Regions from separate parts of the Homo sapiens genome. Here all the other regions are linked to region 1. The links are contacts of gene promoters, found by promoter capture Hi-C in blood cells and fetal thymus (Javierre and others, 2016). All regions are on one chromosome and are shown on one strand. The core of a region is centred on a gene start or on the middle of the fragment in contact, and the rest is flanking DNA. Distances in the headings are between cores, read along the strand shown.

Region 1 (4,903 bases), core at 1,544-4,043:
AGCCTCTGTTGAGATGGAAAACCCATGGGGAACTGTCCACAGGTCTGAGACACAAAGCCTTTCTCTGTAGGTGTGTGAAGAAGGAACTTAGGGAGGAAGGTAAAGAAGGGGGAAGGAGGAAGAGCCACATACTCCAAATACCCAGGACCTGTCTAGAGTCACCTCCTCCTCACCAGCCTGGCCACAGAATCCAAGATGCAAAAAAGGCCATTCCATGGAGAGGATCTATCCCTCTGCACCTGTCCGAAGCCACAGAGGCAACCACTGAGAGTAGGGGCTTATATATCCTGCCAGAAATATTTTCTGCATATATAAACAAATAGACATTTCTCCCTCTCCTTGTTTTCACACACCGGAGTGTGCTGCACACACTCTACTGCACTCTGTTCCATGCCCTGCATTTTTACTTAACGGTTTACTTTGGCTCTCGTTGCATGTCAGCTCCTGAAGAGGTTGCCTCATTCTTCCTCATGTCTGTGCCAGGAAGCATTACTTGTTTAACCAGTCCCCTCTCCGAGGATGTTTACGTTGTATCTTATCTTCTATTCTTACAAACTGCTCCAACCCCTATCCTTATGCACATTGTAAACCCATGCCAGAATATCTGCCAAGTAAATTCCTAGAAATAGAATAGCAAGGCCAGTTGTGGTGGTCCACACCTATAATCCCAGTGCTTTGAGAGGCCCGGGTGGGAGGATTGCTTGAGGCCAGGGGTTCAAGACCAGCCTGGGCAACATAGCAAGACTTCATCTCTATTAAAAAAAATTAAAAATTAGCCAGGCATGGTAGCACATGCCTGTGGTCCTAGCTACTCCGGGAGGCTGAGGCAGAAGGATTGCTTCAGCCCAGGAGTTAGAGGAGTGAATTATGATGGCACCATTGCACTCCAGCCTGGGTGACAGAGCAAGATCCTGTCTCTAAAAAAAAAAGAAAAAAGAAACAGAATGGCTGGATCTTAGAGGGCAGGGTCATCTTCTATATTGGTAAATATTGTCCACTGCCCCCTATGGAGGTTGTACTCAATTTGTATTCCCTGCTGCAATTAATATTGGATTTTAATACAGACACAAGAGAGCTGTGAGTTTTCAAGCTCATAGAGGCGGAATGGCAAGAGGAGAGAGCCCTGGATTTGGGGTCATGGAACTGGAATGCTGTTTTGATAACAACAACGATGATGAGAACAACAGCAACTATGACTGCAGGGGAGCTCCTGCATACCATGAGCCAGGCACCCAATATGAGAGGAATTACCTTCATGTAACAGTGGCTCTGAGAGGTTGAGTAATTTGCCCACAGCCACACAGCTTAATGACAGAATCAGAATGAAGGATTCACATCAAGGACTGTCTGGCTGCAAAATCCCAGCCCTTATAACCTCCAGGCCACACTGCTGCCCAGTGTCACCATTAACTTGCGGTCCCACCTTGGGCAGTCAGTGACCAGTCTCCCAGCTCCTCAAGGTAAATCTGACAATGGACAGACCTCCTTGATTCACCTGCTTTACTTCTAGGCATGAGTGTAGAGTGGGGAGAGCTGATGTGGCTGCAGGGCCAGGAGAGCACTGCAGACGTAATGACTCTCTACCTTAGGGAAGCTGGCGATGACACGGTCGCGGCTCACAGGGGGCCCCAAAGGTGTCAGGGAGGACCTCATTCTTCCACAGTCCTGTGGACCCAACCAGGAGAAAGACAGTTAAGGAGCTGTGCAAATACCTGGGGATTCACCCATGAGTTTCCACCTAACTTTTCATCAGATCCAGGCTGGGTGCAGTGGCTCATGCCTGTAATCCCAGCACTTTGGGAGGCCAAGGTGGGAGGATCACTTGGGCCCAGGAGGTTGAGACCAGCCTGGGCAACAAAGTGAAACCTCAGTCTCTACAAAAAAAAACCAAAAAAATTAGCAGGGCATGGTGGCCTGTGCCTGCAGTCCCAGCTACTTGGGAGGAAGGTGGGAGGAATGCTTGAGCCTGGGAGGTCAAGGGTGCAGTGAACCGTGAAGGTGCCACTGCACTCCAGCCTGGGTGATAGAGTAAGACCTTGTCTCAAGAATTATAAATAAAACCAGATCCAGGCTTCCCTCTCTGTCAGGAATATGGGGCAGAGGCCATTTCTCTCAATCTGCATACAGCAGGCAGCATGGTATGGGGGAACCAGGCCTGCCCCACCCTGCCTGGGAGTCAGAAGACCTGGGTCTCCCCTTGACAGGTGTCTACCAAGGAGGAGCTCCCCTCTGAGCTTACCTTACTGGGCTGTGAGGCATGGCACAGCTCAGGCAGTGGAAGTAGAGTGGGGAGGGGTCTCCTGCTCCCAGTCTGCAAAGGACGAAGGCTCTAGGTGGGCCTGGGGGCCTTAACTTTCAGCCAACTAGGCCTTTTCCCTGAAAACCCTCACTTCACCAGGCCTCTGACTCCTCGAGCCTCCTCAACAGCCCCTCTGTCTCCTTTTTCTGTCCGGACTCCTCTCCAGGCTGGGCTGGGGTGGTCCTGGCGGAGTCCGGTTGTCTTCCCGCATCTGACCTGGCTCTCCTCCACAACCAGCGCGGGCCTGGCCCAGAGTTTGCGCTCCGGAAATGAGGACGCCCCGGGGCCGCAGGCCGCTTTCAAGTTATAGGGGCGGGAAGTGGGCGCGGACGCTGTGCCCTCGCGGCCCTGGCCTCGGGATGTGCCAGCACGGGGTTGGGTGACCGGGAGGGTCGGACAGAGTGGGCGAGCTGACTCACCAGCGATGGCTGTGAAAGCTGGGGCTCCGCGCGGCCTGGTCCGCCTGAGCCAGCGGCGGCGATCACCATGGCAACGAGAGCCACGCGGGACCTGCGGGCTACACGAATCGTCGACGTCGTGGGCGGGGTCTGCGTTGGACTGGCAGCGGCGCGTCCAAGCATCCAGCTTGCACCGGCGATCACCATAGCAACGAGAACCTGCCTGGAGTCTGGGCGGGGCTGGCAGCAGAGAGACTCCTGGACACCCTGGAGAGCCGGAGATCACCATGACAACAAGGGCGGTGCTGGATGGGTGGGCGGTGGGCGGGGCTATGGAGGCCCGGGGGCGGAGCCTGAGCCCTGGGTGGGGCTGACCGTGGAGAGATTCGCGCAGGTTCTGGTGATCAGCTCGGCTGGGAGAGGTTGGGCGGTTATGGCATAAGAGCTCCTGATGTGGTATTGATGTTTAATTGGAGTCAAGCACCCTGCAGCTGCAGAAGATAGACCTGCCTACCATCTACTGACCTTAGTCTGCATAGTTCTGAATCCAGTGCTGTCTGAATATCATATGCCTGGCTTCTAGAGCTCACGGTACAAAATTAATTTCCTTAATAAAAAGCTGACCTGAGTCAGTGATTTCCTCTGAACTAGTTTCGGTTTGGAAAGTTAGCTGTTTTGGGCTAGATGGCCTCTTGTGGCCCTTATAAAACCGTGGAACCAGCTTCGAAGTCCGGGGTTCAGTTTGAGAACCTACTTAATTCAGCTCCTTAACTTTTCTGCATCACAATATGGAAGCCTTGGTACACAGATCTAACTCAGTCATCTTCAATTCAAAGCTAAGTGTGCTGGAGGCTGGTGTTTGATGTCTTTTTTTTTTTTTTTTAAAGAGATGGAGTCTTGCTATGTTGTCCAGGCTGGACTCGAACTCCTAGGCTCAAGGAATCCTCCCGCCTCAGCCTCCCCAGTCCTTGGGACTACAGGCAAGGGCCACCACACCTGGCTCTGTTTAATGTCTTTTAGTGAGTTTCACTGCTAAGGTTGAGGCTTAGGGGGTGAACTTAGGTGAGTTGTTCCACCTTCCGCACCTCAGTTTACTCAACTATAAAATAAACGCAACTATCTATTTCAATGGATCACCTGAGATGGTGAAAGTGCTTTTATACTGTAAAGCTTGATTCAAGTCCATTAACTATTCATTTGTCCTACATGTACTGAAAGCTTCCTGGTATATGCCTAGCACTGGGGAGACAAGGAAAGAGAACGGACATGGTGTCCACCCTCAGGGAAATTGGAGTCCACTGCGGGAAGCAGAGAAGTAAATAGAGAATTAGGGGAAGGGAGTGTGCCAATGGGATTTAGGAGAAGGGAAGATTAAGCTGTGGGGTCACTTACTAATTTGGATTTGGGGATTTGGCAGGAGCTAGAGATCACCCTGAACTCCTCCTTTAGCTGTTTTTTTTTTTTTTTTTTTTTTTTTTTTGAGATGGAGTCTCACTCTGTCGCCCAGGCTGGAGTGCAGTAGTGTGATCTCGGCTCACTGCAATCTCCGCCTCCCGGCTCAAGCGATTCTCCTGCCTCAGCCTCCCGAGTAGCTGGGACCACAGGTGCGCACCAACCATGCTTGGCTAATTTTTAAATTTTTTTAGTAGAGATGGGGTTTTGCCATGTGTGCCAGGCTGGTTTTGAACTCCTGGCCTCATGTGATCCGCCGGCCTTGGCTTCCCAAAGTGTTGGGATTACAGGCGTAAGCCAGCACACCTGGCCCCAATCCTCCTTTAGCTCTTAAGTGGGCTCTTTGCCTAGATCTAGAAACCAAACTGACACTGGGCAGATTAGCAAGAGAAAAGCATACAAGTGTTATTAGTTTTACATGCGCATGGGGATCTTTACCAGAGTGAAGTCTAGAGAAGTGGCCAAAGCAAGATGCTTTTATACTTTTTAGACAAAGGATGACAAATTTGAGAAGAAATGGCAGGACAAAGGGGATCTGGCTAGGGCAGTAAATTCTAGGGGATTCACTAGGAGATAATATGAGGGGCATAAACTTAGTGGAAGACAGGGTTAAGTATATTTATTCAGGTCCATTGCAGTCCCCAATTCTTAGTCTCAGGTGACAAGGGCTATTTTCTTGCCCTGGTACAGTGAGGGTACCGCTCCTAGAGGAATCTTTATGGCTTGCTGAATGCAGAAAGAAGCATATCTGTTT
Region 2 (4,903 bases), core at 747-3,246, 190 kb after region 1:
ATTACCTATGTCAATTTTGGATCAGCTTTGACTGGCTGATATTTTCCTAACTATGGATCATATTCTTCCACTTCTTTGCCTGCATGTTAATTTGTAGTTGAATGCTAGACATTGTGCATTTTATCTTTGCAGGTGCTAGATATTTTTGTATTCTTAAGTTGTGTTCTGGTACACAGTTAAATTATTTTGAAACAGTTTAATCTATCCCCAGCTTTCTTTTAACATTTTTACATGAGACCACAACAGCATTAAGTCTATGGTTAATTTTGTCCACAGATCAGGAAGACTCCTCTGAGTACTCTACCTGATGCTTAATGAATTATGAGATTTTCTGTACTTGTTGATGAGGTCAGGCATTATTTTCAGCCCTGAATTTTCTCTGGGGATTGTTCTGTTCAATGCTTTTGGGTAGTCTTTTTCTTGGCCTCAGGTACATTCCTCATATGCATACACTGATCACTACTCAGTATAATACTTACACTCTCGTATTTGCAGAGTTCTCTTTCTGTTAAGCTCCCTCCTCTTTGGTACTCTGCCCTATGAACTCCAGCGGCCTGGGATCCCAAGCAGCTCTGTTTCTTCAACTCGGGGAGGCCAGTGGGCTGTGGTTACGTTCTCTCCTCCTTGAGCCTCAGACTGGAAACTCTCCATGCAGTAATCTGGGGCAATCGTGGGGCTCATCTTATTCATTTCTCATCTCTTATAAACCACTATCTTTCATTGCCTGATGTCCAGTGACTTAAATATTTTGTGTTGTTTTTAAAATTATTCCAGGCCTAAAAATAAATCCAGCTCCTGTTACTCCATGTTGACCAGAATGTATAATTGTTATTGCTGTTTTTTTTCTTTAAAAAACACCTTTATTGAGATGACTTATCCAATTAAACTGAGGCTCATTTGCAGGGATAGTTTTTGAGGTCAGTGTTTGAGGTTTGCTTTGACCCCAAGAGGTCTGTTTTTAGCCATGTCTTTTCCTGGTTCTCTCTGATAAACTAGCTGGCCTATGGTCTAGTTTATGTCACTAATGAACTTACCAGTTTCCTCTCAATTGCTTTTTGCCCAAGCTTCATTGTTTTGAAAGTCCCCTTAATGTTGAACTTTGTACTCATTTGCAAATAAAGTCAGTTCATTCGGGAAGGGCTTTAGAGCTCTCTATGTCCTGCCTTTCCTCTTGGGGAAATGTTTCAGGAGCTTTTGGCTATGGCTCTGGGGCTGGGTGGGGACAGTGGTAGGTAGCTACTTTCTGAGTGACACCCCTGCTTTAGGAGGTGGGTGCTTATTGGAGAGTCTATTGTATTCCCAGCTTGCTTCTCATAGCATGGAACCTCTACTTTACAAATGAGCTGGTTGATGGTGCCAGTATTCTCAGTGTGTTGCACCCAAGGCAGGGCTTTTGTCCCACAAGTAGGGGCTGAGCAAAAGAAGAGAGCCTCAACCGATTACTACAATCACCTGGAATTTAGTCTCTGCAACAGGTAGCTGGGGTGGGAAGAAAAATGCTGATGGATTTTCCTTCTTGGGAAAATACCATAGCCCTTGACTGGGAGCTGGGTGGAGACAGTGCTGTGTCCTTGGCTGTACCCACCTGGAGTGGAGTTTCTGTCACATTTTGCTGGCAGTGGGAGGAATGGAGCAGGTCGTGGTTGAAATGCCACAGACCCTCCCATTTCTTGCCAGGTTTTAATAGATGTTCTTGAATTAAATGTTTTTTTATTTGCTGTATGCCCTAAGGCCATTTCTAGAGACTTTAAATAAATACATATATCTTAAATATTTTATACACACACACAATTGCCCATTCTGGAAGTGGAAGTCCCCCGTCTCCACCCCCAGGAGGTTTTCAACACTCTAGATGTGGATGCCCAGCTGACCGCTCACTCTGCCTCCCACTGCAGGAAGACTCAAGGATAGATGCCCCAGTGAGTCAACCTCCTAGCTTCTTTTCAAATTCAAACAATCTTTTCTCTAGCCACACCTTGGTTCATAGGCTAAAACCCTTGTTACTTGGATTTGACCTTTTTGAGAATTTTTGGAGCGTGCACAGTCTTGTTGAACCCTAATGCAACCAAGTAGTTGTGTAGTTCTCTTCTAGGGTCAGATTCACTCTCATCAGATAATGTGTGGACCCGGGAAACAAATTATCTGTACATGCTGGCCGTCTCCCTGCATTTCCGCCACCTGGTGGGCAATTTTCACATGGACTGCCTTGAATCTGGATTATATTTGGTGGTCTCTGGCACCCTCCGGTGATGAGATATTTTAGCCCTGTGTTTTGTGGTAGTTTGACCGTATTTCATTTGTGATGAAGTGATTTTTGACCTGTATAACTGCTTTACAAGGAAACACACTTGGAGCTTGTTCACTGAGGGGCTGGAATAGTCAATCTGCATCCATGTCCACAGGCTGTTGGCTGGCATTTCTTCGGTGATGAGTCTGGTTTAGCCTCATTGTGAGAACATGCAAGGTGTGTGCATCCCTGGGTCTCTAGTTTAGTGTTCCTTCCAGGTCTTGGGCACCTATCCCAGCAGATCTTGGTGGCAATCATGAAGGATATCCTGGGGACATCACAACATAGTCCTCTCCCAGTTTTGCTGGCCAGCAGTGAAAAGACCGAGAGGCTGCTTTCGGGTCTTGTTTTTACAACTAGACCTTCGAAAGACATAAAGCATCTGTGTCCCTGCTTTGTAAGGTTCCAATCACCCCAGATCTTTTTCTTCATCCCCATGAGCAGTGGGGGGTCACGTTAACAATTTGGATCCAGTTATTCTCAGCAGCTAATGTCCTTCCAGCAGAGAGGGCGGACGCTGGGACTGTCCCATCATCGATGTTCCTCCAGCTCAGCCATCTTCTGGCTGCTGGACCAGATTGTCTGACTTTATTACCCAAGGGCTGAAAGGCTTATTGTCCCTGTGGCCACTTGGAAGCTTATGATCTTTGACTCCTGAGCTGTATTCTGTCATCCATTTAGCATAATATAGCGATCAGTCCAAGGACTCCAGTTCCTTATTTTACTTGTGAAGGATCATTTAGAAAAAAAATTCAACCTCCTTAGCAGTAGTTTGTCCTGGAATGTTGGTTTTATTAATAATTACTGTGGGTTACACCTCCCCTGCCTTCTCACCTTCTTTGAGGTTTCCCACATGAAAACCCCTGACACTGACTGAGGGATGGTCAGATTTTTAAAAATGTGACATTGGGGTTTTGAGGACCAGCATTCACGTCCATCCTGTATGAGGCCATCCTTGAAGTCAGAAGTTTTCCACTCTGAACCATCATTAGAGGAGTCATCGCTATGGTGACATGATGGTTTTCTCTCTTTCCATGAACTTGGAGATGGGGAATTATTTGAAAAGATAGAGAGCTGAGTGTCCAACCTCACTCTGGTCATATGACGTCTCTAGGGGAGCAAAGGCTAAAGGAAATTGGTTTCCTCCTTGCTGTGCAATGCACTAGCTTTTGGACACATGGCTGTCCTGTCACTTTTTACTGGAGCTAGGCCCGAGGCATTTGCAGGAGTGTAATTTATTTGGCCCCAAGCTGTGACACGTTCTGGGTCCACCGGAAATTCTTGATTTCTTTTATACTCTGCTGGGCGGGCTTCTCTAGGGTACTTATTCTAGGAATAAATCTCACGAATCTTTGTGGGCTTTGAAGTCCACATTGCTCCTTGGAGAGGAGAGAGCATCTGCATCCATTCTTTGCTCACCCACCACCCCCGAAGTGGCCATTCCAAAGAAAGCTGCCTGTGTTCTCACTGGCTGATATCTATCCCCATTTTAACCTGATTTAGATGGGGCTGACCAGCATTTATGGTTTGGTCACAACGCTTGCCTTCTGCAGTTCCCTGTGGCAGCTGACTGTTTGCATTCTGCAAGATGAATGCCTGAAGGCTTCATTTGACTTCATTTGATTGAAGGTCTATCATAGTAGCAGTTCGGAGATGACCTTCATTTCCATGCCATCTTTTGATGCTGAGATATTGTGTCAACCAGGGTAGACTCAGGAGGCAAACCACACCAGTAATTTGAACAGGGATTTTTTCAGAGTTGTTAAACTATAAAGAGTGGTGAGCTCATGAAAAGGATAAAGCAGGACTGTACAACGTTCATGAGTAGCAGATTCAGAAAGCAGCTACCGACTCACGCGGAGTGAGTGAAGGAACTAAGAGCTTGAGAATGGGACCCCAGGCAAGGCTGAGATTCAGACTTTTCCAGGAGAGCATGGTTTTGCTGTGAGCTGTAGCCTGCCAGAGGCCAAGACGCTTGCCAGAGAGTGTGAGCAGAAGCTGGTCCATGGAAGGGCCTATCATTGCCCAGGGGTATGTGGGTGGGCTGGTGCAGGTCTGGAGGATCAGCCCCAGGGTGGAAAGGTGATTGCCTGAGGATGCAGTAGGAGCTTGTCTGTAGAAGCAGCAGCCAGGGACTTTATATTTGCACAGATAATCTTTTCACACATTGCCCTTTTAGGGATATGGAAAGTAGAGTCCTGGGCTAAACAGATGCCTTCTTTAACAGTTCACTATGGAAGCTGGATGTGGTGGCTCATGCCTGTAATCCCAGCACTTTGGGAGGCCAAGGTGGGAGGATTCCTTGAGGCCAGGAGTTCGAGACCAGCTTAGGCAAATAATGAGATTCCCCATCTCTACAAAAAATACAAAAATTAGCTAAGTGTGGTGGTGTGTGCATGTAGTCCCGGCTACTCAGGAGGCTGAGGCAGGAGGATCACTTGAGCCCAGGAGTCTGAGATTGCAGGGAGCTATGGATGCACTGCTGCTCTCTAGCCTGGGTGATACAGGGAGACCCTGTCTCAAGAAAAGGAATACACTATGGAAAAGGAGGTGAACGTTCGGTGGTCAGCAGCCTGTTGCTGCCATAGGGGGTTTTAGTGGCCAAAGGCTAAGTGT
Region 3 (4,903 bases), core at 1,084-3,583, 130 kb before region 1:
TCCATGTCATGTACCAAACTAAGAGATGGGCAGAACTGAGAAAAGTTCAGGCCCTGCCCCTGGCTGCAAATTCTAAGAGGAAGTAGCCTGGAGCTTCTGCCCCCCTTTCCTGGCTAGTGTCGTCAGGGGAGCTCGCCCGTCACCTCCGACACAGATGGCAGCATGCGGGCAGGCCACCACCCCTCACTTTCATAAAGTCCCTCGCAGGCTGTGAAACCTTTTCAGTCTCAACACCCAGTGGAGGGGCCACGGACCCTGCATCATTGCCCTCAGAGAGCACGGACACCCAGGGAAGCAAAAGGGTGTCCCCAAATCAGTACACTGGTAGCAGTGAGGGAGAGCGGACCCTGACGGGGCTTCGCCCATCTGGCATCTTTCTTTCTGCATCAAGGACTGCAAACCCGTTGGGCAGTGCCAGGGGATACCGAGGTGGATGTCCAGGCTTGGAGTGCCCAACTGATCAGCAGCATCTGCCCCAGGAATGGCAGGGGCAGGGGCAAAGCACAGGCATCTATCATCCTGCCTTAGCCACCATCAAGCCACCTCCCTTAACGTGCCTCGGATAGAAAGCTCTGAGTGAAGGGGTGCTGGTCAGACTCACGGTGACTTTTCTAGAGTCATTAGTCCTCCACCTTGCTTTGCAGCTAAGGCACCCAGGTGACCCCTCCTCAATGAGCAAGTGCCCCTCCACCAGGGCGAGGTCCTGGGGAGGATGCAGATCCAGGCCCCTGCCTTTGTGAAGCAACCAGCCCTTTTTTTTTTTTTTTCTTTTTTTTGAGACAGAATCTCGCTCTGTTGCCCAGACTGGAGTGCAGTGGCACAATCTCGGCTCACTGCAACCTCCGCCTCCCAGGTTCACGAGATTCTCCTGCCTCAGCCTCCTGAGTAGCTGGGACTACAGGTGCCCACCACCACGCCCAGCTAATTTTTTGTATTTTTAGTAGAGATGGGGTTTTATCGTGTTAGCCAGGATGGTCTCAAACTTCTGACCTGGTGATCCGCCTGCCTCGGCCTCCCAAAGTACTAGGATTACAGGTGTGAGCCACCGCGCCCAGCCGCACCCAGCCCTTCTTAAATTACACTTCCTCCTTGGTGGCCCCGAGACATGACCATGGGTAAGCGTGGAAGTTGGCCCCCATGGGGACGGATGCAGGAACGAGGGCCTAGGTGTCAACTTCTAGACAACATCGCGTTTTCCTTAATTCCCCAAAGCAGTGGATTCCAATGATCCGAGCACTGAGAAGGCCCTTCCTTGTCTCTAGGAATGCTAAATGGCAGCTGCAGTTGCAGGGAGCAGACTAGGCACAGGAGAAGCCATGGGAAAAAGGACGCCCACACTCACTTCCCAGGAGGTCAGAGCGCTCATAAAAGAATAGTCGGTAGAAGAGAAAGAGCAGGCATCTCAGGAGGGTAGGGCGAACCTGGCAGGAACCCACCCAGCACGTGGAGGCTTAGGAGAAGCAAATCCAACATCCACTTAGATCTGTGTGGACTGCCCACAGGTTTGTCACAGGTTTGCTCTCCTTCTGGGGCCCTGAGCCAGGGAAGAGAACCAAGGGCAGGGCCCGGTTGTTGCTCCAAGAAGCAAGATCTGATCCCCCACCACTCCCAGGTCCCAGCCATGGGATGAGCAGCTGGGGAACACTTGCACTGCTCAACGCCTCCACTGGAAGGTGCCGGGGACCCACTTCCGCCTTCAATGCGCTCAGAGACTGCCAAGGAGCCAACACGGATGGCGAGGACTGCCACTAAATCATGCCCATTTGACAGCCCAGGTGCCCGATGAGGTGGGGCCATGTTCCCACCCTGCTGCAAAGACAAGGAATGGGCCCAGTTGGGAGAAGCTCTAGGCCACCCAGTGGGTCGGTCCTCACGATGCTGGCATGGGACTCTGAGTCTGCCCAGCTCCAGGGCTTGGACAAGCCGGAGAGCGGAATGGAAGGGACAGCTCCCTCCTCCTCCATGCCCTTCCTGGGCCAGGCCCACCAGGAGAAACCTGACCAAGTCCCTCACTAAAGGTCAACTCGGATTAGACTCTGGACACTCAGGGTACCATTCCCAAAGTGGTGTGTGGCAGATGGGGCTGACAGCTGCCTGCCTGGTGGCCCAGGGCAGGAGGAGGAAAGCAAGCCCCATGTGTTGGGCAGGTCCACCCTGGGGGCCCTGAGGACAGGGCCCGTGTCCTTGGTACAGTGCCGACCACCTGGCCCATGAACCAGAAGAAAGAGAAGGAGGTGGTTCTCTTTTTTTTTTTTTTTTTTTTTTTTGAGATGGAGTTTCACTCTGTCACCCAGGCTGGAGTGCAGTGGTGAGATCTCGGCTCACTGCAAACTCCGCCTCCTGGGTTCAAGCGATTCACCTGCCTCAGCCTCCCGAGTAGCTGGGATTACAGGCACCCACCACCGTGCCCAGTTAATTTTTGTATTTTTAGTAGAGACGGGGTTTCACCATGTTGGCCAGGCTGGTCTCGAATTCTTGACCTCCTGATCCACCCGCCTAGGCCTCCCAAAGTGCTAGGATTACAGGCGTGAGCCACCGCACCCAGCCATGAGGTGGTTCTGAGGCAACTACAGTCAGGTTCACGCCCAGCCTGTGTCCTGCCTGGGCCAGACAGCTTCTGTCCCTGCATGAGACCCCTGAGGCCGGGGGTCAGCTCCCCTCGCCTCAGTGCTGCTTCTGACAAAAGCTGTTCCCCCTGGACACTGGCTCCCCAGCTTACACGCCTTGGCTGTTCTCAGTAGCTGCTACCTGCCTGGGAATGCATCTGCCTCATTATGTGCCAGGCCACACCTAGGAAGGCTCAGAGCGGCACAGGCACAGGCCATGCCTGCTCATCGATGATGTGCACACAGAGTACATCAGTGACGGGGGGGAAGGGGAAGGAGAGTCTTCCCGGAGGAAGACGTGAAGTGCTTCAACCAGTCTCACGTCACAGACACAAACCACGAACCCCACTTTCTAATCCTTAAACCCGATGTTAACTGTTTTTTAATGAAAGCACTCAGGGGGAAGTAGGAGGATTCCAGGCAGACAAAATGCCATCCTCCTACTCACCTCCTTTGCACAAGTCTCCTTGGCTGGGGAGCCTGAGCTGGCAAGACTGTGGGGGATAAAAAAAAAGGGGTCCCTGGACACAACCCACAATGACAGAAAAGGAAAGAGGTGGCTGAGTGAGGCATGGTGATGGCTGCCACCTGGAGGGCATGGTGCTTGCAGGGTCACCCCTGAGACTGCACCCAGACACCTTCCACACAGGACTGAGTGTGCGGCCAATCTCACCAATCCCAGAAGGCAAGGTCTGCTGAGGACCAGGAAGGGCTCCAGACCTCAGATCGAGGGGCCCTGCATGCCCCCAGCTCAGCAGGATGGGTGGACCCAAGCCATCCCCTGCCACACTCACCTCTCCCTTCTTCACCGTCATGGACTGCCGTCGGGGTGTGATCTCCTCATTGATGCTGGACAGGAAGTTCTGTGAGATGCGGAGGGCGTCCTGCAGCAAGGGGTGGTCAGGGTGGCTGGCAGGAGTGTGCTTCAGCAAGTCCTGCCCCAGGAAGAAAGACTTGAGTTAGACACAGAGGAGCACTGGCACCTGCCACTGTGTGCAAAGTGCAGACACAAAGTGTGGACGGAGCCCAGAGCGCCGGCTCCCTCAGTGTCACCACAGTCTCTCTCACTTGGGCCCCAGCTTTGTGGACAGAGCTTGTGTGAGCACCATCCTGGAAGCAGGTCCTACATGTGTTCCAGCAAACTCACGCTGCATGCACATGGCCAAGAAGGACTCCTCTGTAAGGATCTAGGGCAGGGTTTCTCAACCTCAGCACTGTGGACATTTTGCGTGGAGTAACTCTTTGTGGAGGGACAAGAGAGAGCTGTCCTTTCCCTACAGAATGTCCAACACCACCCCAGGCCTCTACCCATTAGATGCCAGTAGCACCCCCTTGGCTGCAGCTATGACAACTAAAAAAAGGTCTCAGAACATTGTTGCTGTGTGTGCCCGAGGGGGCAGTTTTGGTCCCGGTCCAGAGGGGCGCTGTGACTTACATGGAGGACCAGCGTGCTCCTCGTCACACGGTCCACAGGCTTGTAGAGCAGAGCTGTGGAGAGAGAGGGGAGGTGAGAGAGGTTGCACATGGAGAAGCACACCAGCTGCCTGACCACCCTCGGTGCAAGGGTGAGTGGGGAGGGGGCTGCCCCAGCCTCCACAGGCCCCATCTCCCCTCTGCGCAGTGACAAGGGCAAGGCTAGAGCACCCAACAGGAACACTTTAAGTCCAGGACATTCACTGCATGCAGAGTCCAGAGCGGCTGTCAGACCCGAGCCTGCATGGCTGGCTCGGTGGCAACAGCTGAAAAGGCTCAGCACTGCTGCTCCTCTAGCCTGAGGTCAGGGAACCCACCCTGGCAAGGACGGGCTGGGGTGGGCCCCAATTCTGGAGGGAGACCTGCTCCCCAGCCCAGAGGGTAAGCTGAGCAGACCTCTTAGCTGCTCTTACCATCGATCCCAGGACATTTCAGACACCTGACTCTGAGACAAGCAGAAACCTACTCAGATGCCAATACAACTCTTGGTTTGACAGGTTCTCTGGCGACCTGCCCGAGGACACCCGGACTCCAGAGGCACATGAGCCCCACTGCAGTGGGAGCAACTCCCTGGCATGGTGGGAGCCCTGGCCAGCCTCAGCCACCCGTGCTTCTCCATGATGACAGTGAGTGTGGCCCGTCCCAGGCACAGACGCTCAGGTGTGTTCTGAGACATGCCAAGTATGTTCTTCACAAGACTCCCACAACCAGCATAAGGCACTCATCGCTATTTTCATTTTGCAGATAGGGAAACTGAGGCTTGGAGGACAAAGCTCCGGGGGCTGCTGTTCTTTGCAAGTGTAACTATTCACAACACCCTAACA

Evidence for each region. Contacts are between HindIII fragments. The CHiCAGO score rates a contact against its expected background, and 5 or more counts as called.
Region 2: a fragment that was not itself captured here is called in contact with the fragment with the promoter of RAB36 in region 1 in 10 of 17 cell types (megakaryocytes, naive CD8 T cells, total CD8 T cells and 7 more); the score reaches 11.1 in megakaryocytes.
Region 3: a contact is called between a fragment that was not itself captured here and the fragment with the promoter of RAB36 in region 1, in 6 of 17 cell types (neutrophils, megakaryocytes, naive CD4 T cells and 3 more). The highest score is 10.5, in neutrophils.

What each region holds. Positions count from the first base shown.
Region 1 is chr22:23,143,367-23,148,269 of GRCh38, reverse strand. It overlaps RAB36 (RAB36, member RAS oncogene family), which reads right to left and starts at 2,793. Exons shown (of 11, transcript NM_004914.5): 1 at 2,719-2,793; 2 at 1,585-1,665. The coding sequence starts at 1,653. It also overlaps a transcript of RSPH14 not described here. RefSeq lists a silencer at 2,971-3,040. The HindIII fragment of the contact is 8,574 bases long and covers 1-3,869 here.
Region 2 is chr22:22,956,681-22,961,583 of GRCh38, reverse strand. No RefSeq gene overlaps it. Among named protein-coding and RNA genes, the nearest start is that of IGLL5, 71 kb to the right of the region's middle. The HindIII fragment of the contact is 1,860 bases long and covers 1,067-2,926 here.
Region 3 is chr22:23,272,272-23,277,174 of GRCh38, reverse strand. It overlaps BCR (BCR activator of RhoGEF and GTPase), which reads right to left. Exons shown (of 23, transcript NM_004327.4): 7 at 4,042-4,094; 8 at 3,401-3,541. Among named protein-coding and RNA genes, the nearest start is that of LINC02556, 52 kb to the left of the region's middle. The HindIII fragment of the contact is 8,216 bases long and covers 1-4,903 here.